Regions from separate parts of the Homo sapiens genome. Here all the other regions are linked to region 2. The links are contacts of gene promoters, found by promoter capture Hi-C in blood cells and fetal thymus (Javierre and others, 2016). All regions are on one chromosome and are shown on one strand. Each heading gives the region's core, a stretch centred on a gene start or on the middle of the fragment in contact. The rest is flanking DNA. Distances are from core to core; before and after follow the strand shown. Region 1 overlaps ITGAM (integrin subunit alpha M). Region 2 holds the start of SETD1A (SET domain containing 1A, histone lysine methyltransferase). Region 3 holds the start of ITGAD (integrin subunit alpha D). Region 4 overlaps ITGAX (integrin subunit alpha X). Region 5 overlaps ITGAM (integrin subunit alpha M).

Region 1 (5,020 bases), core at 125-2,624, 370 kb after region 2:
AGACGGAGACCAAAGTGGAGCCGTTCGAGGTCCCCAACCCCCTGCCGCTCATCGTGGGCAGCTCTGTCGGGGGACTGCTGCTCCTGGCCCTCATCACCGCCGCGCTGTACAAGGTGCTCCCCGCTGCTCCCCCACCCCCTCCCTTCATCCTCTCGGGCCTCGCGCTGCAGCTCCGTGCCTCGGTTTCCCCGGCGGGGCTGCCAGCTGTGTGACTGGGGCGAGTCTGGGAGCCTCTCTGCGCCTCAGTCTCTTAGGGAGGGTGGCCGGGTTCATGCGCGGGGCGCGCTGAGAACGAGTCGCCCTCCTTGTAGTTTCTGTTTTTCTCCAGGCCCCGACGCGGATGTCACTCCCCTCCCGCCCCGCCCTCCTGGGTCCCTTCTGTCTCTGCCGGCCCTCCCGCCCCCTCCCCCTGGTCTGCGGAGCCGCACGCTCCCTGGCTGCTGTCGCTCTCACTGCCCTCCTCTGCCCCGCAGCTCGGCTTCTTCAAGCGGCAATACAAGGACATGATGAGTGAAGGGGGTCCCCCGGGGGCCGAACCCCAGTAGCGGCTCCTTCCCGACAGAGCTGCCTCTCGGTGGCCAGCAGGACTCTGCCCAGACCACACGTAGCCCCCAGGCTGCTGGACACGTCGGACAGCGAAGTATCCCCGACAGGACGGGCTTGGGCTTCCATTTGTGTGTGTGCAAGTGTGTATGTGCGTGTGTGCAAGTGTCTGTGTGCAAGTGTGTGCACATGTGTGCGTGTGCGTGCATGTGCACTTGCACGCCCATGTGTGAGTGTGTGCAAGTATGTGAGTGTGTCCAAGTGTGTGTGCGTGTGTCCATGTGTGTGCAAGTGTGTGCATGTGTGCGAGTGTGTGCATGTGTGTGCTCAGGGGCGTGTGGCTCACGTGTGTGACTCAGATGTCTCTGGCGTGTGGGTAGGTGACGGCAGCGTAGCCTCTCCGGCAGAAGGGAACTGCCTGGGCTCCCTTGTGCGTGGGTGAAGCCGCTGCTGGGTTTTCCTCCGGGAGAGGGGACGGTCAATCCTGTGGGTGAAGACAGAGGGAAACACAGCAGCTTCTCTCCACTGAAAGAAGTGGGACTTCCCGTCGCCTGCGAGCCTGCGGCCTGCTGGAGCCTGCGCAGCTTGGATGGAGACTCCATGAGAAGCCGTGGGTGGAACCAGGAACCTCCTCCACACCAGCGCTGATGCCCAATAAAGATGCCCACTGAGGAATGATGAAGCTTCCTTTCTGGATTCATTTATTATTTCAATGTGACTTTAATTTTTTGGATGGATAAGCTTGTCTATGGTACAAAAATCACAAGGCATTCAAGTGTACAGTGAAAAGTCTCCCTTTCCAGATATTCAAGTCACCTCCTTAAAGGTAGTCAAGATTGTGTTTTGAGGTTTCCTTCAGACAGATTCCAGGCGATGTGCAAGTGTATGCACGTGTGCACACACACCACACATACACACACACAAGCTTTTTTACACAAATGGTAGCATACTTTATATTGGTCTGTATCTTGCTTTTTTTCACCAATATTTCTCAGACATCGGTTCATATTAAGACATAAATTACTTTTTCATTCTTTTATACCGCTGCATAGTATTCCATTGTGTGAGTGTACCATAATGTATTTAACCAGTCTTCTTTTGATATACTATTTTCATTCTCTTGTTATTGCATCAATGCTGAGTTAATAAATCAAATATATGTCATTTTTGCATATATGTAAGGATAATTTATAGGATATGTTCCTGGAAGTTTGGGTTCTCCCAGAAGCAAACCCAAGAATTTGGGTGAAACAAGCGTATTTAAGAGGTGGCAGGCCAGGCATGGTGGCTCACACCTGAAATCCCAGCATTTTGGGAGGTGAAGGTGTGAAGATTGCTTGAGCTCAGGAGTTCGAGACTAGCCTGGGCAACATAGTGAGAACCTGTGTCCACGAAAAATTAAAAAAATTTAGCCAGGCCTGGTGTTACATGCCTGTAGTCACAGCTACTCCGGAGGCTGATGCAGGAGGATTACTTGAGCCCAGAAGGTCTAGACTGCAGTGAGCCATGATCGCACCACTGCACTCCAGCCTGGGTGACAGAGTGAGATCCTGTCTCAAAAATAAACAAAATAATAAAATAAAGGTCGGGCACAGTGGCTCACGCCTCTGTAATCCCAGAACTTTGGGAGGCCGAGGCTGGTGGATCACCTGATCTCAGGAGTTTGAGACCAGCCTGTCGAACTTGGTGAAACCCCGTCTCTACTAAAAATACAAAAAAATTAGCCATGCATGGTGGCAGGCAACTGTAATCTCAGCTACTTGGGAGGCTGAGGAAGGAGAATTGCTTTAACCTGGGAGGTAGAGGTTGCAGTGAGATATGATTGCATCACTGCACTCCAGCCTGGGCGACAGAGCAGGACTCCATCTTAAAAAAAAAAAAATAAATAAAATAAAATAAAATAAAGAGATGGCTCCAGGAAATACCGAGGAAGGGAAGGCTGCCAATAACAGGTGTATCACCCACAGAGAAGCTGCTGTGAGTTCCTGGAGCTTCACCCCACTGGGCAGTTCTCGGAGGCAGTGCAGAACACGCACCTCAGTATCACCCCACCCAGGGGAGAAGGCTGGAGCGCATAGACACCGATTCCACTTAGCTATTGGATGAGGGCTGCTCTTGGTGGGGAGAGTGTGTTAATTTCCTACCACTTCTGGCCTGCCCTGAGTGTGAGGAGAGTGGGCTCTAGTGGCCAGAGAAAGTGATACCAGTGCTGCTGGCTGGATGTTTGACAGGTGAACACAGCCCCTGACACGGTGCCTTTGGTTCAGGTCAGGGCACCAGGAGCACTTGCTGCCAAGGTGTGTGCAGGTGACATTTTGGTGGCTGCTTCCTCAGAGGGAGGATGCCCAGTGCCTGTCCCTCATACTTTGCAAACACAGTAAACACTAGCCTGGCCTGAACATACATCCTCTCTAATCCTCACACCAGTCCTTGGTATTTACATGAATTTCACTTATGAGGAAACCTAGGCTTAGATAGATCATACCAGTTGCCTGAGGTCATACAGCTGGGAAGGAATGGAGCTAGGAGTTAATCCCAGCTCTGCCTAGGTCTAAAGCTTTTCTCTTTTACTGTCCTGACAGCCTCAGAGGAATGGCCCCAGAACAGGCATGAGGGAGTGTGGGGAGAGGGTGGCTGTTATTTAACTGTTATGATATTGGGTTAAAGCATATGAAATTGATGACATGTTTTTGGACAAAAATGTTTCTTTCTTTTCTTTCTTTCTTTCTCTTTCTCTCTTTTCTTTCTCTCTCTCTTTCTTTCTCCTTCTTTCTTTCTTTCTCCTTCTTTCTTTCTTTCCCTTCCTTCCTTCCTTCCTTTCCTTCCTTCCTTCCTTCCTTCCTTCCTTCCTCCTTCCTTCCTTCCTTCCTTCCTCCTTCCTTCCTTCCTTCCTTCCTTTCTTTTTTCTTTCTTTCTTTCCTTCCTTCCTTCCTTCCTTCCTTCCTTCCTTCCTTCCTTCCTTCCTTCTTTCTTTCTTTCTTTCTTTCTTTCTTTCTTTCTTTCTTTCTTTCTTTCTTTCTTTCTTTCTTTCTTTCTTTCTTTCTTTTTTTTCATGGAGTCTTGTTCTGTCGCCCAGACTGGAGTACAGTAGTGTGATCTCAGCTCACTACAACCTCTCCCTCCCGGGTTCAAGTGATTATCTTGCCTCAGCCTCCTGAGTAGCTGGGATTACAGGCGTGCACCACAATGTCTGGCTAATTTTTTTTTTTTGTATTTTTGGTAGAGATGGGGTTCCACCATGTTGGCCAGGCTGGTCTTGAACTCCTGACCTCAGGTGATCCATCTGCCTTGGCCTCCCGAAATGCTGGGATTACAGGTGTGAGTCACTGTGCCCAGCCAAAAAATGGTAATTTCATGATCTTCATTGAAATACAAGAAAATCATGGCTTAGAGGGACACTTGTTTCACATGTGGCAGGAGGAGAGAGGGCTTACTCCTTAGGGAGGTGAAGGAAGGGTCCCCAAGGGAGGTGACACCTGACTGAAGCAGGGCCAGAAGATCTCCAGGCAGAAGGGAGGGCAGGGGAGGCTGGGAGAGTGGGCAGGGCTTGGGCATGAGTGCTTTGTAAGCCAGAGTGAGTAGTTCCAATTTCACTCAAAGTGAAGTGAGATGCCCTCAAAAGGTGGCTAATGAGACAATGGCCCTTTGTATCTGTGGGGGTGACACAAAACACGGTCACCTTTAGACGGTTCTTTGCTATTTCCTCTCCTGACTTAAATAAAGTCTGTTAAGAATTTCTGTGTTTCCTTATGTTGAAAGATAAAAGTCCTCAATATCTGCAGAAGTCCTGAATTGCTCCGGGAACAGAGAGAGTTCTGTACCTTTAGTCGCCTGTCCTTTCACCCTCCATGTCTGTAGTCGCCTGTCCTTGCAGCCTCCATGCTGGTCCTTGTAGCCTTCGTACCTAGTTGCTTGTCCTGGCAGCCTCCATACCTGTAGTTGCCTGTCCTTGCAGCCTCCGTGCCTGTAGCCGCCAGTCTTTGCAGGGCAGTTAAAGTCCTGTGAACTCAGAGTTCACCTCCGCGTCTTCAAATGAGAAGCTTGTGTTGAATTCAGCCAGATAGGAGCTTTATGATGGGTTAGAAAAGTCAATCATTTCAAGCGACAGATTTCCCTAGCATGACCACAAAGTGACTAATAAACAGGACCATAAATCTGGTGATAAGTGGCCAAGTCCAGGAACGTCTGCTTGCTTTTATTTTTGGGGATTTCTCACTTCAGAATAAATGAATCCCTTCAGTATCCACTCTCCTTTTCCTACTTAGAGTAGAATCTTAATTTGGGCCACCATGGGAGATGGTTACAATTCTGACTCCCAGTGAATGGTGCTTCCCGGCCCTACACCCTTGCAGTGTGACATTGCTGTCCCTGACATCACATGGTGCGGCCTGTCTACCTCTTTGAATCTGGGCTGGTCCCGTGGTTTGCTTTGATTAATAGAATACAGTAGGAGTGTGGTCGTGTGAGTTCTGGAGCC
Region 2 (5,356 bases), core at 211-2,710:
GGAATCTCTCTTTGATTTGAGAAAAGGAACCAGTGCCTTTCAACTGGAACAGAAAGGAATCTGATCTCAACACCTATGCCTCCACGTAAATTATTTTTTTCAGCCTTATTTCCCTCAAAATTGTAGAGTCCTAATCTTCTTCTATCTTGTGGTGTGAGACCTTGGATAAGTCTCCCTTCCACCTTTTCCTATTACTTAAAATGGTGAATTTGCATAAACCAGGCTCTAAGGGTCTTTTCTGCACTGTTCGGATGTGTACAAATTGACATCCAAGTTTAAAGGAAGACTCTGAAACTTAGGTCAATGACTTGCCCAAGGCCATATAGCGAGGGCCTGATGTACACATATCAGGAGCTTGGGGCATCCTCAGCTCAGGAAAAGGGACCTCCTGGGAGTGCCTGCGCCCACACGGGATCAAAACGGTGCCCAGCCTTCAGAAACCTCAGCCCGAGTTCCAGGGGTAGGCCTGGGCCGCTGCTGCCCTTGTGCGGAGGCATCCCGTGAGCATAGGGCGCCATAGCCAAAGAAGCGGGCAGTGGGACCATGACGCCAGGAGGACACACCAGTCCAGTCCCGTTCCTGTAGGACCTCGTTTATTATTACAAGGCCCATTTAAGGGCACTTAGGCCCCACTAGGCTCATCAGAAAACCTTGAGGCGGTCCCTGGATTTAACCACTAATGGTGGGTTTGAGTACGGCAAAGTAGGGCACCTTCTACAGGCCTCACTCTCCCCATCTGGCAAATGGGCATCCTAAGCAGCCAGACACCCAAGGGCAATAACGGGAAGGAAAGGTACCCTGCATTTATGTGCGAGGCGGGGCAAACCGCCTGAGTCACCGCTCACGGTTGTGTTTTTCCACCTCCCGGCCGTCCCTCCCATCCGGGTGAGTCCTCGTGGGTCCTCCCGGAGGCGCCCCCTAGTCCCAGGCTCTGCACGCCCTGGCCCCGCCCCTTGACTCGGCCCCGCCCACAGCGGAATCCGCAGATTCGCCAGGTCGGATCCTCAGAATTCCTCGGGTCCCTCGATACTCGGCTGAAAATTCTCATCGGACTCTGAGAGGAGCGCTGGGCTGGAGGCATTTTCCCCAGGGACAGAAGCGGGCTATTCTCTCACTTGGGCCAGTAAGAAAAATCCAAAAAAAGTTGTCGACTCTGCCAGCAGGGATTGGCTAACGGGCCGTTATTTTCTTGACTCCACCAAGGCGGATGAAGGGGAGGCTACGGCTGAGGCCGGGAACAGTGGCGAATCTGCAGCCTCTCAGAATTTGGCAGTGCAAGGAAGGGACGGGGAAGAGAAGCAAAGCGGCGCGCATCCTGTCCAGCGATTCGCCCCGCCCGCCCGGTGAATCTGCGTCTGCAGAACGCGCCACTGAAGGTTCCCCAGCGCTGGCTGGCCTCCTCCCCTCCGCCCCGCCCCTTTTCCTCAGGGACTAGTCGCAGCTTTCGTCGCCGCCGATTCGTCAAGGTCCCGGGCCGCAGCATCTAGATCGTCGTGGCGAAGCCGACTCTCCGGGGGATGCGGCCAATCTCCAAGCTCCCTGGGCCGCAACTTCCGAGCCTCCCAGGGCGCCGGCCGAGGCGAAGCCGCTACCCTCGGCCCCGTGGGTCCCCCGGCAGCGCCTGTGGCGAAAGTGCGAATGCAGACCCTGTGCCCGCTGGGCCTCGCGCAGGTGGCAGTGGTGTTTGGTGCGCGCGCCGGGGAGGTGGTGGTGGGGGGGCGCCGCCGCCGCCACCGCTGCGGGGCCGGGTCTCGCGCTGCCGCTGCCGCCGCCTCGCGCCGCTGAGGTGCCGCGCGAGGTGGGGGGAGGGGGAGCCGCTCGCCGGGAGCGGGTGAGTGGGGCCGCGCGGCGCGCGTGCGCGGAGACCTGCTGGGGGGGGTGCAGAACGCGCCGGGGCGGGAGGAGAGGGCAGCGGTGCACGTTCCCCCCACCCCCCCGCCCGGATTCGGGGTCGAAGCCGGGTCTCGGGCTCGGTCTCGCGGTGTTTCCAACGCCCCGAAGAGGTGCCACCTTTCGGCCGGAGGATCGGGGCGCGGGGAGGAGAGCGGGTGTGTGGGAGCCGTGGCCGGGCTCGGCCCGGGCCGCTGGCCGGTGAGGAGGCGGGAGGGGGCGGGGCCTGCAGGGGGCGGGGGAGGGGTCTTGCTCCGAGGCCAAGTGGGGCGCGCGCTAGGGAGAGCGGGAAGGTAAGGGGGCTCGAGACGGGCCTGGGGGCCTGACAGTAGAGTTGGGAGGTGGAAAGAGGCTGGGTTGTTGTGGCGAAACAGAGGGTACTTGGGGGAGAATCCGGGGGAGCCCCGGGTCAGGGTGAGGGTTGGAAACTGGAGTGATGGGAGAACCTGGAATCGGGGCTAGCCAATGAGGAAAGGCAGGGGAGTCAGGCCCCAAGTCCTGATCCTTCTTGCGTGTCCCTCTTCCCCTAACAGTGTAAATGAGCAAAGATGGATCAGGAAGGTGGGGGAGATGGGCAGAAGGCCCCGAGCTTCCAGTGGCGGAACTACAAGCTCATCGTGGATCCTGCCTTGGACCCTGCCCTGCGCAGGCCTTCTCAGAAGGTGTACCGCTATGATGGAGTCCACTTCAGTGTCAACGTGAGTGCCCGGGTCTTTGGTTGCCATCCGGGGAGCTCCAGGCGCCCGTCCTCTGTGATTCTGTTCAGCACCTAGAACGGTAGCCTGCCTTCTTGAAAGTGGGCAGTTGGACCCAGCTCTTCTGCATGTGTGTGTCCAGATGGGCTGCTTGGAGCTCCCTAGCCTGGATTCACCCTGAGCTCTCTTTCTGCTGCTGCTTTCCTTCCTAGGACTCAAAGTATATACCAGTCGAAGACCTCCAAGACCCCCGTTGCCATGTCAGGTCCAAAAACAGAGACTTTTCCCTCCCAGTCCCTAAGTTTAAGGTAAGTGTCTGCTGGGCTCCTGGTGTGGTAGTCCTAAGAGGGTGTGGAGGATGCGTCTTGGCACTATAGCTGAATAAAAGGGTTTCCAATGAAAGGATCTCAGCCAGATCTAGCAACCTCTGAGGCTGTGAGACTCAGTTGTTTTGGATAGGAGGTACACTTAATCTTCCAGAAAGGTGCAGGTCAGGTGTCCTAAGTGTATCCCTGGTGGCTGGGGTGTCGACTTCTTGAAGGGTGAGGTAAAGACTCTTTAGCTGCTATACCTATCACTGTATATTCGTAGACAGTGCATCATAGCACACAAGAGTGGGATCTCCCAGTTCCTTGACAGTCAAGGGGAGTGACAAGGCCACTGCCTACCTGGGTAGCACTATTCCCCGCCTCTCATTTGGCGATGTCATTTCCCTCTTGTTTCCTTCGAGGACTCCTATTCTCCACCCTAGACAAGATATTCTTCAGGCCTTGAACTGGGCCTGGAACACTGGTGGTTCTTCATTTCCTTCTCTGATTCTTTATTCTTCCTTTCTAAATAAATTGTTTGTGGGGTCCCTTCATTCTTCTTCTTCTTTTTTTTTTTTTTACTTTGTACACTTCACTTGGACAATCTCTTTCACACCCACAGCTTCAACTATTACCTAAATGTTGATGACTTCCAAGTATCTGTTTCCAGCCAACATCTCTAGGCTTGTATGCCTGGTAGGGGGACAGTTTCATTTGGAGGCCACACATGTTTCAGATTTAAGGGATTTAAAACAAATTATCTACCTCCTTAACCTACCTTTTTCATTTTCCCTCTACTCATATGTGGCAGTACCATCGACTCAGCTGTACAGCCTGGCAGCCTGTGATTCTCTCCTTTTCTCTCTCAGTTGGTCACCGAATCCTCCTGGCTCTTTTCTTTTTTATTCTTCATCTTTCTATTCTCATTGCCACTTAATGTAGACCTTGGTATTCATTTCACCTGGTCTCCTTGCCTTCGTTCTTGCCTCAGTTTCTCCTCTGCCTTGCTGTCATTTGTCTCTTTGGCTTCACTACGCTGCTGTTTTCCTTTTGTTGCCAAGTCCATGTTTTGGGACACTGACATGTATGGTTATTGACCTGGCCAAGCCTTATCCTCCGCCTTGACACCACACCCCTGTGTTACATCCACACCATAACGCTTTGCGGTTTTTCAAAAACACCAAGTTGTTTTATATTTCCATGTTCCAGGGGTCCTTGTCATTTGATGAATTGTTAATCCCCAAATCTCAGTAAGAATGACACCATCTTTATGAATTCTTCCCTGATCATACTCTGTACAAAAGTTTCCTTCCCTGGGCTCCAGAACACCATGTATGCGTCAGCTGCCACTGGGTCGTGTTGTGTTTGTATGTGCATGTCATGCTGCTTTTCTGTATGGGAATCTCTTCCTTTCTATCTCTGTATTTCCAGTGCCTCGTTCATGGTAGTTACCTAGTAAAGGCTGAGCTAGGAAATCATCGCCCTGTAGCTCGTTCTCTCCACGTATATTTATTCCTCAGTGTGTACATTTCTTTCTTTCTTTCTTTTTTTTTTTTTTTTTTTTTTTGAGACGGAGTCTCGCTGTGTTGCCCAGGCTGGAGTGCAGTGGTGTGATCTCGGCTTAGTGCAACCTCTGCCTGCCAGGTTCAAGTGATTCTCCTGCCTCACCCTCCTGAGTAGCTGGGATTACAGGTGCCCACCATCACATCCAGCTAAATTTTTTTTTTTGTATTTTTAGTAGAGACAGGGTTTTATCATGTTGGACAGGCTGGTCTTGAACTCCTGACTTCTGGTGATCCGTCCACCTCATCCTCCCAAAGTGTTGGGATTATAAGTGTGAGCTGCCACACCCGGCCTAGTTTGCACATTTCTGTTCTTAATTCTTGCTGTTATTCTGTGGTGAGAAGAATTCAGGGAAAAGGGGTCAGGTCTGATGGATCCCTTATTTTGGGCCCCTTCCCTTGCCCCTCACTTTCCCGGATCTCTCTCTTGACTTCATGGAGCTTGCTAAAGTTTCCCGAAGGACAAAGGAACAGTGGTCAGTGTTGAGACCCCATACCAACTCCTGTTCTTTCCCCAGCTGGACGAGTTCTATATTGGACAGATTCCACTGAAGGAAGTGACTTTTGCAAGGCTGAATGACAACGTGCGGGAGACCTTCCTGAAGGATATGTGCCGTAAGTACGGTGAGGTGGAAGAGGTAGAGATCCTCCTTCACCCCCGTACGCGCAAGCACCTGGGCCTGGCCCGTGTGCTCTTCACCAGCACTCGGGGCGCCAAGGAAACGGTCAAAAACCTCCACCTTACCTCCGTCATGGGCAACATCATCCATGCCCAGCTTGACATCAAAGGTGAGGACTCCTCTGCCTGCCACTCAGGCTTGGCCTCCAGCGGAGGTTGTACATGCAAATGCCTGTCAGGGTCAGGCAGGCGCCCAGGGTCATGATCTGAAACTGCTGGGGC
Region 3 (5,286 bases), core at 1,129-3,628, 440 kb after region 2:
GATGGAGAAAATGAAGAGCTCTTTAAATTTCTGAATTATGAAGAATCACCAACAAATTATTTTGTGGTTCCAAATACAGGGAGAAGTTCACAGATCCACAGAACTGATGACAGGGTGCGGCCAGCCACAAACCTTTCAGCACAAGAGGGAGAAGGCTGCCGCTCCACTTTGCCTGGGCAGTCTTTGTAAGGCAGTAGATAAGTCAGCCTCGAAGTTAGCAATCACAGCCCTCGGCTCGGTTTCCTGCAAGGGCATCGTTAATGCATCACAATTAATTTCTTCTGTCCATTAAATGTCAGCTCTCAAGTAAATTGATGTAAAATTTTTGTATAGAAAACTATTTCATATTATTTGCACTTGATGTTTAATTACATTTTAAATGTTTTGTTTGTTTCATTTTGTTTTGTTTTTGAGACAGAGTCTTGCTCTGTTGCCCACGCTGGAATGCAGTGGTGTGATCTTGACTCACTGCAACCTCTGCCTCCTGGGTTTAAGCGATTCTCCTGCCTCAGCTTCCTGAGTAGCTGGGATTACAGGCGTGCACCACCATGCCTGGCTAATCTTTGTATTTTTAGTAGAGATGGGGTTTCACCATGTTGGCCAGGCTGGTCCCGAACTCCTGACCTCAAGCTATACACCTGCCTCAGCCTCCCAAAGTGCTGGAATTACAGACATAAGCCACTGTGCCCAGCCAAATGTTTTAAATAATTGTCACATATATATACAAAATAATTTATGTTATAGGTAGGGATCTTGTTATATTTTAACCTTCAAAGTATATTCCTAAGCTTTTTATTTATTTTTTATTTTTTATTTATTGAGACAGTCTTGCTCTGTCGCCCAGGCTGGAGTGCAGTGGCGCAATCTTGACTCACTGCAAACTCTACCTCCTGGGTTCAAGCGATTCTCCTGCCTCAGCCTCCTGAGTAGCTGGGATTACAGGTGCGCACCACCATGCCCAGCTAATTTTTGTATTTTTAGTAGAGACGGGGTTTCACCATATTGGCCAGAGCTGGTCTCAAACTCCTGACCTCAGGTGATCCATCCACCTCAGCCTCTCAAAGTGCTGGGATTATAGGTGTGAGCCACTGCGCCTGGCCTATTCCTAGCCTTTTATATATAGACCTTTTTCTTTTTCACATTTTAAAGGAACTTTTATGTTTAATCATGGAATATTTCAAACATACAGAAAAATCACAGAAAATAAATAACAACCACTCATTTATCTTCTCCCCAACCCCATGTAATAAATATTAAAATATTGTGTTAAATGCTAAATTTAACACATGCTAAAGGTTCCTGGCTGGATGTGGTGGCTCACGCCTGTAATCCCAGTACTTTGGGAGGAGGAGGTGGGAGGATTGCTTGAGTCCAGGAGCTCGAGACCAGCATGGGCAACATAGTGCGATCTCGTCTCTACAAAAAACAAAAAAATTAGCTGGGCATGGTGGTGTGCATCAGTAATCCCAGTGACTGGGAGGCTGAGGTGGGAGAATTGCTTGAGTCTGGGAATTTGAGGCTGCAGTGAGCCCTGATCATGCCACTGCATTCCAGCATGGGCGACATAGCAAAACTTGTCAAAAAAAAAAAAAGTTTCCTCTCTGCCCCACCATAGACAACCACTCTTCTGATTTCTATCTTCGTAGATGAATTTTGCCCATTCTCTTGTATATGAAAGGAACCAGACATTAGGCATTCTGGTGTCTGGTTTCTTTCACTTAAGATAAAATTGAGTTAACCTGTATTGTTGTACAGAACTGCAGTTTGTTCTTTGTTATTTATTGTAAAGACAGGGTCTGGCTATGTTGCCTAGGCTGGTCTCGAACTGTTGGCCTCAAGCAATCCACCTGCCAAGCTCTGGGACCACAGGCATGAGCCATGGCATCTGATCTGTAGTTTGATCTTATTTCTTGCTGAGTAGTAGCCCATGGCATGACTTTATTATTTTGGGTGTCCATTCTCCTCTGGAGGGGCTCTGCTTTTTGAAACCACACCCTGGCCTAGCTCCCCTTCTCCCTGCCTCTCTGCCGGCTCACATCCACATGCCAAGACCTCTGCAGCCATTCTGCTTCCTGTCCTTCCACTCCTGTGGGACCTCAGAGAGCTACGGGGCTCCCTGGGTACCAACTGGCTCCTGAGGCCTGGGGGAGGGTGGTCTTCTGGGAGAAGGAAGCCAGGTCCCTGCAGGTTGTGGAGGGGGACAGAATGAGGGTTTTTCCCCAGGGTGTTGTTGGCCCCTGCCCCCACTTCTGTTCCATAATTAACCACGCCCCTCCTACCCACTGTGCCCCTCTTCCTGCTGTGTGGAGGCCCTGAATCATTATTTTAACTACCCCCTGGGAGGGTGAGCACCTTCTGTGCTCTGTCCCCAACCTTCCACTTCCCCTCAACGCGCTGCTCAGGGATGACCTTCGGCACTGTGCTTCTTCTGAGTGGTAAGTGGGGCCAGGGTGCTGGGGAGAAGCTTGGAGGAGTTCTGAGGGGACTCCATCTGGGAGGGCAGGCTGGGGGCTGGTGGTCGGCTCCAACCACTCTTATGAGGAGCTGAGGCAGGGGAGTGCTTCATGTGCGAGTGGCCCGGAGTCAGTAGAGTGTGACCTGAATGAAGAGGGGCTCAGGGGCTGTGCTCAGGTGGCGACTAAGCTACCTCTCCAGCTGGCTATGTTGTCCCAGGCTTCCCTGCTCCCACTCATGGAGTCCCTGGTGTGGGTGACAGAGGTCTCCCCAGCCTCCCCCGGGAGTGGAAGGCCACAGAAGCCACCAGGGAGGGGGAAAGGTTGGACATCACCTCCCTGGGCCTGTTTCCCCCAAGTCCTGACTGCACGTAGGGAAGAGGCCCCCTGCTGAAAACTGCATCAGAGTCACATTCACGTGCCATCAAAAATCAGGCTTGGCTGGGTGCGGTGGCTCATGCTTATAATCCCAGCACTTTGGGAGGCCGAGATGGGCGTATCCCCTGAGGTCAGGAGTTTGTGACCAGCCTGGCCAACATGGTGAAACCCCATCTTTACCAAAAATATAAAAATTAGCCGGGCATGGTGGCGTGCACTTGTAATCCCAGCTACTTGGGAAGCTGAGGCAAGAGAATCGCTTGAACCCAGGAGACGGAAGTTGCAGTGAGCTGAGATCGTGCCGTTGCACTCCAGCCTCAGCAACAGAGCGAGACTCCATCTCAAAAAAAAAAAAAAAAAAAAGAAAAAAAAGAAAAAGAGGCTGGGAGGTCCTAGGGATTGGGGCTTCTTTAACTCCCAGCCTCCCCGCCCACCAAATATTCCTCAGTCCTGGCTTCTTATCATGGATTCAACCTGGATGTGGAGGAGCCTACGATCTTCCAGGAGGATGCAGGCGGCTTTGGGCAGAGCGTGGTGCAGTTCGGTGGATCTCGGTAGGCCCCACTCACCCTCCTTCCCCAACCTCCACTACATCAAGTCCTGTGGATGGGTACACGTGGGTTACCCCAGGGAGGTGTCCTGGAGGAAGGCCAGCAGGGGTGAGAAGTCTTCCCTTGGCTCCTTGGAGGCCCTGACATCAGCACCTATTATTCTCAATCCCAGGAAAGGCCACAAAACTCTAGACAAGACCCTACCTTACCTCGGGAGGGAAGCCTTGAACCTGCCTCCCAGGCAGGGCCCACTTCTTGGGGCCAGTATGGTCACACAGGGCCCACACTCATTAACTTTGGAGTTTAATGTTCTGCCCTTGACCTCTTGAAATTCCTGATTATTTTTATTTTTATTTTTACTCCAGCTCTGTTACCCAGGCTGGAGTGCAGTGGTGCAATCACAGCTTACTGCAGCCTCAAACTCTCGGGCACAAGTGATCCTCTCACCTCAGCCTCCTGAATAGCTGGGACCACAGGTGCATGCCATCATGCCTGTTTTTTGTTTTGTTTTGTTTTACTTTTTACAGAGATGGAGTCTTGCTATGTTGTCCAGACTGGCTGAACTCCTGGGCTCAAGCAATCCTCCTGCCTTGGCCTCCCAAAGTGCTGGGATTACAGGTGTGAGCCACCCTGTCTTGCCAATTCTTAAAAATTTTATCTGTGCATTTGTGTTTTGCAAGTAAAGAATGATGGCAGGGCTGGGCACCATGGCTCACGCCTATAATCCCAACGCTTTGGGAGGCTGAGGCGGGCAGATCATCTGAGGCCAGGAGTTTGAGACCAGTTTGGCCAACACAGCAAAACCCCATCTCTACTAAAAATGCAAAAAAAATTAGCCGGGCATGGTGGCAGGCATCTGTAATCCCAGCTACTTGGGAGGCTGAGGCAGGAGAATCGCTTGAACCTGGGAGGTGGAGGTTGCAGTGAGCCGAGATCGTGCCACTTTACTCCAGCCTAGGTGACAGAGTGAGACTCCGTCAAAAAAAAAAAGTCATGGGAGAAGGGAGATGCACTGGGGGTTTGGAGCCTTAGCTCAGCAGCAGCCCCACCTCCCACCGCCTCCTGAAGGGTGGTGAAGGGGTATCAGCTGCTGGCTCCCCCACCCATGTGGGAGCAATGACCGCTGCTACCTTCCGCCCCTGGCATGAGCTGGGTAAAGTCAGTTAGGGGCGCTCACTCTGGGAGTACCCCGAGGGAGTGGGACACTACATAGCAAATAAAAAACGTCAGGACAGGTTGAGGAAGAGAGCAGAAGAAAGGTAAGAGCCCCCCAACCCCAAGAGACCCCACAGTTTTATTTCAAATTGGGACCCACAAATTATGAACCTGCCCCCACTTCCAGGAGCTCACATTCTCCTGTCCCAGAGAGTTCAAGTCACAATGTGACACAGGTGTCACCAAGGTCTGGGGGGCGCAGGCAGGGAGAGAGCAGACCCAGGAGGGTTCCATGGAGGAAGTGGTGCTGGCAGTGAGCCCCAGTGGACAGGAAGGCTCAGTTGGTCACGAGGAGCTATAAGAGGTCACCGAGCTCCAACCGCGCACCCCTCTCCCTTCCTCATGTGACTGGCAGTCTGGGGGGATGGAAGCAAGCACCAGGCACCAGGCTTTTGTTTTTCTTTATTTGGAAATGTGGTCAACTGAGGTGCACAAATCTGAAAGACCCAATCTGATAAAGGATACACATGTGCGTGCCTGGGTGAGCCCCACCTAGGTCAGCTGCTCCAGTGTCAAATCCCACAGGCACAGGGCTGCCGTGGACCCCTTCTCATCACCCAACATCCCCAGAGAACCCCTGGTCAGACTTCTGTCACCATCAGTTTTTTGGGCCACATTTTAAAAAAAGAATACATTGGCTGAGTGCAGTGGCTCATGCCTATAATCCTAGAACTTTGGGAGGCTGAGGC
Region 4 (4,664 bases), core at 1,861-4,360, 420 kb after region 2:
CACTTGAGTGTGGTAGAGCATGCCTATAGTCCCAGCTACTTGGGAGGCTGAAGCTTAAGGATTGCTTGAGCTCTGGAGTTGGAGGCTGCAGTGAGCCATAATCACACCACTGCACTCCAGCCTGGGTGAAAGAGCAGGACTCTGTCTCTTAAAAAAAAAGAAGAAGAAGAAGAAGAAGAAGAAGAAGAACCCAGGGGTCCGTCCCCTGTCTATCTCCCAAATCCCCACCCACCCCATTTTATCCCAGACCATTTCTAGCCTCAGTCACAGAATCATCTTCTCCTTTCCTTCACCTGATACCCAGCTTGAAGTCCCTGCTGGTGGGGAGTAACCTGGAGCTGAACGCAGAAGTGATGGTGTGGAATGACGGGGAAGACTCCTACGGAACCACCATCACCTTCTCCCACCCCGCAGGACTGTCCTACCGCTACGTGGCAGAGGGCCAGGTGCACCCTCTGGGGAAGGAGGAGGAGGCAGGGCTGGGCGTTAGCGTAGATTCCCGTGCGGTTCAGAACCCGGGCTGGGCTTGGAGGTGGTAGTGCCATCTGGGGCACGCCTCTGCTCGTGTGGGTGTTCAACTTTGGGCATCGCAGTTTAAGGACACTGACTATCAGGAATGATTTCCTGAGAGGCCACTAATGTGGAGACAGAGGGGAACCTGCCCAAATTTCTTTCTATTCCATATTATATCAGTATTCCTCTTTTAAATGAAAACATACCTCAGCCTTCAAATATTTTAAAACACTGTTCTGTAGAAGCAAGGGGTTGAATTTATTGGTCACTCTACATTAAGGCTTGGCGACCTTTTTCTATAAAGGGCTAGATAGTAAATATTTCAGCTTCGTGGTCTGCGTGGTCTGTGTCACAGCTGCTAACCTCTGGTGTTGTGGAATGAAAGCAGCCATTGACATGAATGAGTTTATGAGTGAATATACCTGCGATGCAGTAAAACTTTATAAAAATAGGTAGTGGCTGTTGGTTGCCAATCCCTGCTTTAAAATGCAGAACTAGGACCACGGGGAGTCAAAGAGAACCAGATTTTTTAAACAAAGATGTTATTATGGCTGGGAGTGGTGGCTCACGCCTGTAATCCCAGGACTTCGGGAGGTTGAGGCAGGCGGATCACCGGAGGTCAGGAGTTTGAGACCAGCCTGGCCAACATGGTGAAACCCCATCTCTACGAAAAATACAAAAATTAGCTGGGTGTGGTGGCAGGTGCCTGTGATCCCAGCTACTGGGGAGGCCGAGGTGAGAGAACTGCTTGAACCCGGAAGACGGAGGTTGCAGTGAGCTGAGATTGTGCCACTGCACTCCAGCCTGCACAACAGAGCAAGACTCTGTCTAAAAAAAAAAAGTTATTATGAAAAATTTAAAACATTTACAAAAGTAGAAAGTAGTTCAACAAACCTCCCCAAAACTTGTCACCTAGATTCAACAATTAGCAGCATTTTGCCACATTTGTTTCATCAATTTTTCCCCTTTGCTAAGGTATTTTCTTTATTTCTTTATTTTTGAGACAGGGTTTTGCTCTGTCACACAGGCTGGAGTGCAGTGGCACAATTTCAGCTTACTGTAGCCTTGACCTCCTGGGCTCAAGCGATCCTCCCATCTCAGCCTCCTGAGTAGCTAGAACCACATGCACACACCACCACACCTGGCTAATTTTTTAATTTTTTTTGTAGAGTTGGGGTCTTACCATGCTGCCCAAACTGGTCTCTAACCCCTGGGTTCAAGCAGTCCTCCTATCTTAGCTTCCCAAAGTGTTGGAGTTACAGACATGAGCCACTGTGCCTGACCTGCTAAAGTATTTTAAAACAAATCTCAGACATGGGGGTCATTGTACTCCTCCTTATTCACTCTGCTATGGTTTGAATGCATCACCCAATGTTCGTGTGTTGGACACTTAATCCCCAATGCAACAGTGTTGAAAGGTGAAACCTTTTAAAGGTGATTAGGTTATGAGGGCTTTGCCCTCATGAATGGATGAATACTATTATCTCAAGAGTAGATTAGTTATTTCAGGAGTGGGTTTCCTTCCTTCCTTTCTTCTTTCTTTTTCTTTCTTTCTTTTCCTTCTTTCTTTCTTTCCTTGAGAGGGTCTTGCTCTGTTGCCCAGGCTAGGGTGCAGTGGCACGATCTTGGCTCACTGCAGCCTCTGCCTCCCGAATTCAAGCAATTCTTGTGCCTCAGCCTCCTGAGTAGCTGGGATTACAGGTGCCCACTGCCACGCCCAGCTAAGTTTTGCATTTTTAGTAGAGATGGGGTTTCACCATGTTGGGCAGTCTGGTCTTGAACTCCTGACCTCAAATGATCCACCCGATTCGGCCTCCCAAAGTACTAGGATTACAGGCGTAAGCCACGGAGCCTAGCCCAGGAGTGGGTTTCTAATTAAAGGATGAGTTTGGCCCCCTTTCCCTCTCACTCTCACATGCACTGCCTTGCACATGCAGCACAAAGGCCCTCACCAGATGCTGGTGCCATGTTCTTGGACTTCCCAGCCTCCAGAACCACAAAGCTTCTATTGATACATTACCTAGTTTGCGGTAATCTGTTATAGCAGCAGGGAACAGACAAAGACACACTCTATAGTTCTGAACAATGAGGACCTCTTATATGACCTCAACACCATTATCACACCCAATGAAATAAGTGATTCCTTGGTATTAAGATCATAGTCAAAATTGTGTAACTGTCTCAAAAATATCTTTTTACTTCTGGTCTATTTGAACGAAAATTCGAACTAGGTCCATACATGATGGTTGGTTGTTATTTCTGCTGTCTCTCTTAGTCTAATATTCCCAGCGGAAGCGCATTTTGATTAACGTATAAAAGAACACAGCAGGAAAGGCCATCTCTTGCATGTGAGGGGTGATCACTGTCAATGAAAGTGCTCCTAGACATATCAACCAAATGTAATGGGTGGACCTTTGCTGAATATTGATTTTAACAAATGAGCTGTAAAATAACATTTTTGGAGACAATCTAAGAAAATAGAACATGACCAGTATATTGGTATATTAAGGAGTAATTGTTAATTTTGTTGGCTGTGATTTGTTGGTTCTTGTGGTTACATTTAAAATACCCTTATCTATTGGTGGTATACACTGAAGTATTTCTAGATGAAACAATATGGTGTTTGGAATGTGCTTTAAAGTGTTCAGAAAGAGAACATAGCAGAAACAAGAGTAGAAAAATGTTGGTTACTTAAAATGAGTGATGGTTATATGGGGTTGATTTTCCAGTCTCTCTATTTTTTAATGTGTTTTAAATTTTCCATTATAAGAGGCCTTTAAAATAACAATAAAAAGGTGAACATTTTAATACATTTGAGATTTCTACTTTGGAAGAAAGTTTGACCAGATAGCTATGGGGGAGCTTTTAAAAACGTAACCTTGGCTGGACATGGTGGCTCATACCTGTAATCCTAGTGTTTTGGGGGGACAAGATGGGAGGATTGCTTGAGGCCAGGAGTTCAAGACCAGCCTGGGCAATATAGCGAGGTCCCATTTATAAAAAAATTTTTTTAAAATTAGCCAGGCATGGTGGTGGTGTGTGCCTGTAGTCCTAGCTACTCAGGAGGCTGAGGCAAGAGGATGGCTTGAGGCCAGAGTTTGAGGCTGCAGTGAGCTGTGATTGCATCACTGCTTTCTAGCCTGGGTGACAGAGTGAGACCTGGTCTCAAAAAACAAACAAACAAACAAAAACATAAGCTTAAGGTGGGCTCCAGGAAGCTTTATCACTACTTCGTGGCGTGTCTTTGGAATGCTGTTATATTAGGTTGGTGCAAAAGTAATTGGGTTTTTGCCATTGCTTTCAATTTCAACTAATACTCCTCTACTTTTTCTCATGCCTAGAAACAAGGGCAGCTGCGTTCCCTGCACCTGACATGTGACAGCGCCCCAGTTGGGAGCCAGGGCACCTGGAGCACCAGCTGCAGAATCAACCACCTCATCTTCCGTGGCGGCGCCCAGGTCAGCCTGGCTTCTGTCCCCTCACTGCTCCCCTGCCCCACCCTGTCTTTACTGCTCTGTGACCTCTCAGTTCCTTTTCCTCAGATCACCTTCTTGGCTACCTTTGACGTCTCCCCCAAGGCTGTCCTGGGAGACCGGCTGCTTCTGACAGCCAATGTGAGCAGGTGAGCCGGGCCAGGCCAGGGGCAGTGCCCCTCATCTCCAGCCTCACACCCCATTCTCCTCCTCTGGGGCCTCTGGCAACTGAGTCTCTCCTCTTTCTCCAGTGAGAACAACACTCCCAGGACCAGCAAGACCACCTTCCAGCTGGAGCTCCCGGTGAAGTATGCTGTCTACACTGTGGTTAGCAGGTCAGCAGGTACCCCACTGCAGGAAAAAGGGTTCTTCTCTCTGACCTCAAAAAGAAAAAAAAAAAAAGGCCTTGAAACGCTGCCACAGAGGGTGAGATAAGGTGTTTGAAACTAAAAGGTCAGGTGTTTCAGCAGACACCTTCCTTCAGCCAATGCCTTCCTCGAATTTGCTGTGTGCCAGGCAGGGTGCTGTGGTTATTTTCCATACATTCATTTGACATTCATTGAAGATTTACTGAGCCCCCATTATGTGTGATCAAAACCAGACATGAACCCTCGCCCTTGTGGGGTGTGCCTTGCTGGATGTTCTCCTGTGCCTGGTGTTTCCCACTCTCACCTGCAC
Region 5 (4,968 bases), core at 500-2,999, 340 kb after region 2:
TTTTGGGTTTTACATTTAAGTCTTTAGTCTATCTTGAGTTGATTTTTGTATATGGTGTAAGGAAGGGGTCCAGTTTCAATCTTCTGCATATGGCTAGCCAGTTATCCTAGCACCATTTGTTGAATAGGAATTCTTTTCCCCATTGCTTATTTTTGTCTTAGATCAGATGGTCATAGGTGTATGGCCTTATTTCTGGGCTCTCTATTCTGTTCCATTGGTCTATGTGCCTGTTTTTGTACCAGTATCATGCTGTTTTGGTTACTGTAGCCCTGTAGTATAGTTTGAAGTCAGGTAATGTGATGCCTCCTTCTGTGTTCTTTTTGCTTAGGATTGACTTGGTTATTCAGGTTCTTTTTTGATTCCATATGAATTTTAAAATAGTTTTTCCTAGTTCTGTGAAGAATGTCATTGGTAGCTTAATAGTAATAGCACTGAATCTATAAATTGCTTTGGGAAGTGTGTCCATTTTAATGATATTGATTCTTCCTATCCATGAGCATGAGATGTTTTACCATTTTTTTGGTGTCATCTCTGATTTCTTTGAACAGTGTTTTACAATTCTCACTGTACAGATCTTTCAACTCTCTGGTTAGCTGTATTCCTAGTTATTTTATTCTTTTTGTGGCAATCGTGAATAGGATTGCCTTCCTGATTTGGCTCCCAGCTCTTGTTGGTGTATAGGAGTGCTAGTGATTTTTGTACATTGATTTCGTATCCTGAAACTTTGTTGAAGTTATTTATCAGCTGAAGGAGCTCCTAGGCCAAGACTATGGGGTTTTCTAAATATAGAATCATGTTGTCTGCAAACAGGGATAGTTTGACTTTTTTACTTCCTTTCTTCCTATTTGTATGCCCTTTTTTCTTTCTTTTGCCTGATTGCTCTGGCTAGAACTTCCAATAATATGTTGAATAGGACTAGTGAGCAAAGGCATCCTTGTTTTGTGCTGGCTTTCAAGGGGAATGCTTTTGCCCATCAAGTATGATGTTGGCTGTGGGTTTGTTGTAGATGGCTCTTATTATTTTGAGGTATGTTCCTTCAATACCTAGTTTATTGAGAATTTTTAACATAAAGGGGTGTTGACTTTTATTAAAGCCTTCTCTTCATCTATTGAGATAATCATGTGGTTTTTGTCTTTAGTTCTGTTTATGTGATGAATCATATTTATTGATTTGCATATGTTGAACCAACTTTGCACCCCGGGAATGAAGCCTACCTGATCATGGTGGATTAGATTTTTGATGTGCTGCTGGATTTGGTTTGCAGGTAGTGTGTTGAGGATTTTTGCATTAGTGTTCATCAAGAATATTGGCCTGAAATTTTCTTTTTTTGTTAAGCTGACACTTTTTAGTTTGATGCCACCCCATTTGTCTGGTTTGCTTTTGTTGCCTGTGCTTTTGGGGTCATATCCAAAAAATCATTTCTCAGAAGCTTGATTGTCAAGAAGCTTTTCCCTTTGTTTTCTTCTAGTAGTTTTACAGTTTCAGGTCTTGTGTTTAAGTCTTTAATCCATTTTGAGTTGATTTTGTATATGGTTTGGGATAAAGGTCTAATTTAATCCTTTTGAATATGAATATCCAGTTCTCCCCACACCATTTGTTGAAGAGAATGTCCTTTCTCCTTTGCATATTCTTGGCACCTTTATTGAAGATCAATTGACCATAAATGCATAGTTTTATTTCTAGCCTCCCTGTTCTGTTCCATTGGTTGATGTGTCTGTTTTTATGCCACCACCTTGCTGTTATGCTTACTAGAGCTTTCTTGACACAGTATGTTTTGAGATCAGGAATTATGATGCCTCCAGTATTTTTTTTCTTGAGGATTGCTTTGGCTATTTAGGGTCTTCTGTGGTTCTACATAAATTTTAGTTTTTTTTCTATTTTTGTAAAAAAATGCCATTGGGATTTTGATAAGGATTGTACTGAATCAGAAGATTGCATTAATACTCCAGTCCATGAACATAGGATATCTTTCCATTTATTTTTGTCTTGTTTAACTTCCTTAATCAATGTTTTATAGTTTTAGTGTACATGTTTTTCACCTCTCTGGTTAAATTTAAGCTTAGGTATTTTTTTTGATGCTATTGTAAATGAGATTGTTTCTTGATTTCTTTTTCAGATAGTTCATTGTTAGTGTATAGAAGCACTATTGATTTTTCACATTGATTTTGTAACCTGTAACTTTACTGAATTTATTCATTAGTTCTAGTAGTTCTTTTTTGGTGGAGTTTTTAGGGTTTTTTAAAAATATATTTATATATATATGTTTTTATATATATATCATTTTAAGTGTAAACAGAGACAAATTTCCTTTTTTATATCTGATTTGGGTCTCTTTCATTTATTTTTCTTGCCTAATTGCTGTGACCAGGACTTCCAGTACTATGTTACATAGAAGTAGTGAGAGTGAGCATTCTTGCCTTTTTCCTCATTTTAGTGGTAAAGCTTTCAATTTTTCACCATTGAGTATGATGTTTGTTGTGGGCTTGTCGTATATGGCCTTTATCATATTGAGGTACATTCCTTCTGTAGCGAATTTATTGAGAGTTTTTATTATAAAAGAATGTTGAATTTTGTCAAATGCTTTTTTTTGCGTATATTGAGATGATCATGTGGTTTTAGTCCTTCATTCTGTTAATGTGATATGCCACATTAATTGATTTGCATATGTGGAATCATCCTTGCATCTCGCATCCCAGGGATAAATCACACTTGATCATGGTTATTATCTTTTTATCTTTTTTTTTTTTTTTTTTAACAGAGTCTCTCTGTGTTGCCCAGGCTGGAGTGCAGTGGCGTTATCTCGGCTCACTGCAAGCTCCACCTCCCAGGTTCACGCCATTCTCCTGCCTCAGCCTCTTGAGTAGCTGGGACTATAGGCGCCCGCCACCATGCCCTGCTAATTTTTTTTTTTTTGTATTTTTAGTAGAGATGGGGTTTCACCATGATTTCCAGGTTGGTCTCGAACTCCTGACCTCAGGTGATCCACACGCCCTGGCCTCCCAAAATGCTGGGATTACAGGCATGAGCCACTGCATCTGGCCGGTTATATGACTTTATATGTTTGTCAAAACTCATAAAACTATGTACTAAAAGGCTGAATTTTATTGTATGTAAACTCTTCCCCAATAAATCTGACCTAAAAAACAATCAAATTCTGTTGACTTTAGGATAAAGTATTCAGTTATCAATGAGTCTTCCCTCAATGGTGTATGAGGCAGAAATCACGTTGCAGAGCCGTGGCATGATGTCCCCTGCACATTCCCTTTCTAGAACTTGTCCCAGTTTGAAATTGCTATACACATCTCCCTGTTAATCCATTGATTACTCTCCTCTCCTCCACCTGGCTGCACTGAGGGCCCTGGAAGGCACTGTATCTCTATTACCCAGCTGTGTGCTTAGCAATAAGAAACACTTGTTTGTTGAATGAATGAATAAATGAATGAATGAATGTATGATTAAATAGGTGAATTTTATGGATGAATTCTACATATTGACCTTGAAGATATTTCTTAATATCACAACAAATATTCAAATAACAAATAGTTATTTTTAATCTAAGCCAGTTATTAGCCTTATTAGTCAGAGTGCCAACTTTGACTTTTTACCTCCCTAAAGATTCCCAATATATTGAAAGGGTGGTATTCTGTCTTCTCTTCTAGAATTTTCTATGTATTTTCCAACCCAAATTCTTCTTTGCTGCCTTAATAATCTCCCAGGAATACCACCTGGAGTAAATCCTCACTCACTGCCCATTGACTCTACTATAGGCTTATTTTTTATCTTTTAAATTATTAAAAAATATATATATACACTTAGAGATTGGGATCTTGCTCTGTTGCCCAAGCTGGAGTGCAGTGGTGACAAAGCTCACTGCAGCCTTAAACTCCTTGGCTCAAGGGATCCTCCCACTTCAGCCCCCCGAGGAGCTGGGATTACAGGCAGAAACCATTCTGCCAGGCTTATTATATAGGTTCCTTTAGCTGGCAGCACATTCAAGTGATAATTTATCATGAACCATATAGAAGATCACATCTGCTCCAGAGGGATTCCCCCAGCAGGCATAACTTTTCTTCAGAGAGAGAAAACCTCCACATCTGCTTTAGGTGGGAAGAGGTGTGTGATTACGGTCCTGTCTCTTTCAGATCGGCGCCTACTTCGGGGCCTCCCTCTGCTCCGTGGACGTGGACAGCAACGGCAGCACCGACCTGGTCCTCATCGGGGCCCCCCATTACTACGAGCAGACCCGAGGGGGCCAGGTGTCCGTGTGCCCCTTGCCCAGGGGGGTGAGTGGCAATGGGACCTGGGCTGGGTGGGGCCCGGTGTGGGTGGAGGGGTCGCCTGGGTTGGGGCCTGATACTGTTTGTGTTTAGCAGAGGGCTCGGTGGCAGTGTGATGCTGTTCTCTACGGGGAGCAGGGCCAACCCTGGGGCCGCTTTGGGGCAGCCCTAACAGTGCTGGGGGACGTAAATGGGGACAAGCTGACGGACGTGGCCATTGGGGCCCCAGGAGAGGAGGACAACCGGGGTGCTGTTTACCTGTTTCACGGAACCTCAGGATCTGGCATCAGCCCCTCCCATAGCCAGGTGAGACCTGGTCACTGTCCTTGTCATGACAGTAGCCTCTTTGTTGATCTTTCTCCTAATTCAGTGTGCCCACAGCTGCCAGATAAGTTCTCACAGTACTCCTTTCAGAACCTTCAAAAATAATAACATGTGGCTGGGCCTGGTGGCTGACGCCTGTAATCCCAGCACTTTGGAAGGCTGAGTTGGGAGGATTGTTTAAGCCCAGGAGCTCAAGACCAGTCAGGGCAACATGGTGAGAACCCATCTCTCCAAAAAAAAAAAAAAAAAAAAAAAATTAGCCAGGTGTGGTGGCATACACCCATGGTCCCAGCTACTCTGGAGGCTGAGGCCGGAGGATTACTTGAGCCTGGGAGGTTGAGGCTGCAGTGAGTCCTGGTCACACCAC

The links. The method cuts DNA at HindIII sites, captures the fragments that hold promoters and counts their contacts. A CHiCAGO score of 5 or more calls a contact.
Region 1: a contact is called between a fragment that was not itself captured here and the fragment with the promoter of SETD1A in region 2, in 2 of 17 cell types (naive B cells and total B cells). The highest score is 5.4, in naive B cells.
Region 3: the fragment with the promoter of ITGAD here is called in contact with the fragment with the promoter of SETD1A in region 2 in 1 of 17 cell types (neutrophils); the score reaches 5.4 in neutrophils.
Region 4: a contact is called between a fragment that was not itself captured here and the fragment with the promoter of SETD1A in region 2, in 2 of 17 cell types (monocytes and total CD8 T cells). The highest score is 11.2, in monocytes.
Region 5: a contact is called between a fragment that was not itself captured here and the fragment with the promoter of SETD1A in region 2, in 1 of 17 cell types (monocytes). The highest score is 5.2, in monocytes.

The regions. Positions count from the first base shown.
Region 1 is chr16:31,331,163-31,336,182 of GRCh38, forward strand. ITGAM (integrin subunit alpha M) reads left to right here. Exons shown (of 30, transcript NM_000632.4): 29 at 3-113; 30 at 474-1,715. The coding sequence ends at 545. Among named protein-coding and RNA genes, the nearest start is that of ITGAX, 22 kb to the right of the region's middle. RefSeq lists a silencer at 316-395. The HindIII fragment of the contact is 184 bases long and covers 1,283-1,466 here.
Region 2 is chr16:30,956,294-30,961,649 of GRCh38, forward strand. It overlaps SETD1A (SET domain containing 1A, histone lysine methyltransferase), which reads left to right and starts at 1,461. Exons shown (of 19, transcript NM_014712.3): 1 at 1,461-1,671; 2 at 2,424-2,588; 3 at 2,798-2,893; 4 at 4,974-5,244. The coding sequence starts at 2,439. RefSeq lists enhancers at 769-1,532, 990-1,119 and silencers at 1,720-1,939, 2,080-2,169. The HindIII fragment of the contact is 14,721 bases long and covers 1-5,356 here.
Region 3 is chr16:31,390,957-31,396,242 of GRCh38, forward strand. ITGAD (integrin subunit alpha D) reads left to right here and starts at 2,379. Exons shown (of 30, transcript NM_005353.3): 1 at 2,379-2,435; 2 at 3,280-3,385. The coding sequence starts at 2,405. The HindIII fragment of the contact is 1,676 bases long and covers 787-2,462 here.
Region 4 is chr16:31,372,945-31,377,608 of GRCh38, forward strand. It overlaps ITGAX (integrin subunit alpha X), which reads left to right. Exons shown (of 30, transcript NM_000887.5): 20 at 305-446; 21 at 3,855-3,971; 22 at 4,056-4,135; 23 at 4,238-4,321. Among named protein-coding and RNA genes, the nearest start is that of ITGAD, 18 kb to the right of the region's middle. The HindIII fragment of the contact is 1,195 bases long and covers 2,514-3,708 here.
Region 5 is chr16:31,293,372-31,298,339 of GRCh38, forward strand. It overlaps ITGAM (integrin subunit alpha M), which reads left to right. Exons shown (of 30, transcript NM_000632.4): 13 at 4,143-4,283; 14 at 4,374-4,583. Among named protein-coding and RNA genes, the nearest start is that of ITGAM, 36 kb to the left of the region's middle. The HindIII fragment of the contact is 613 bases long and covers 1,444-2,056 here.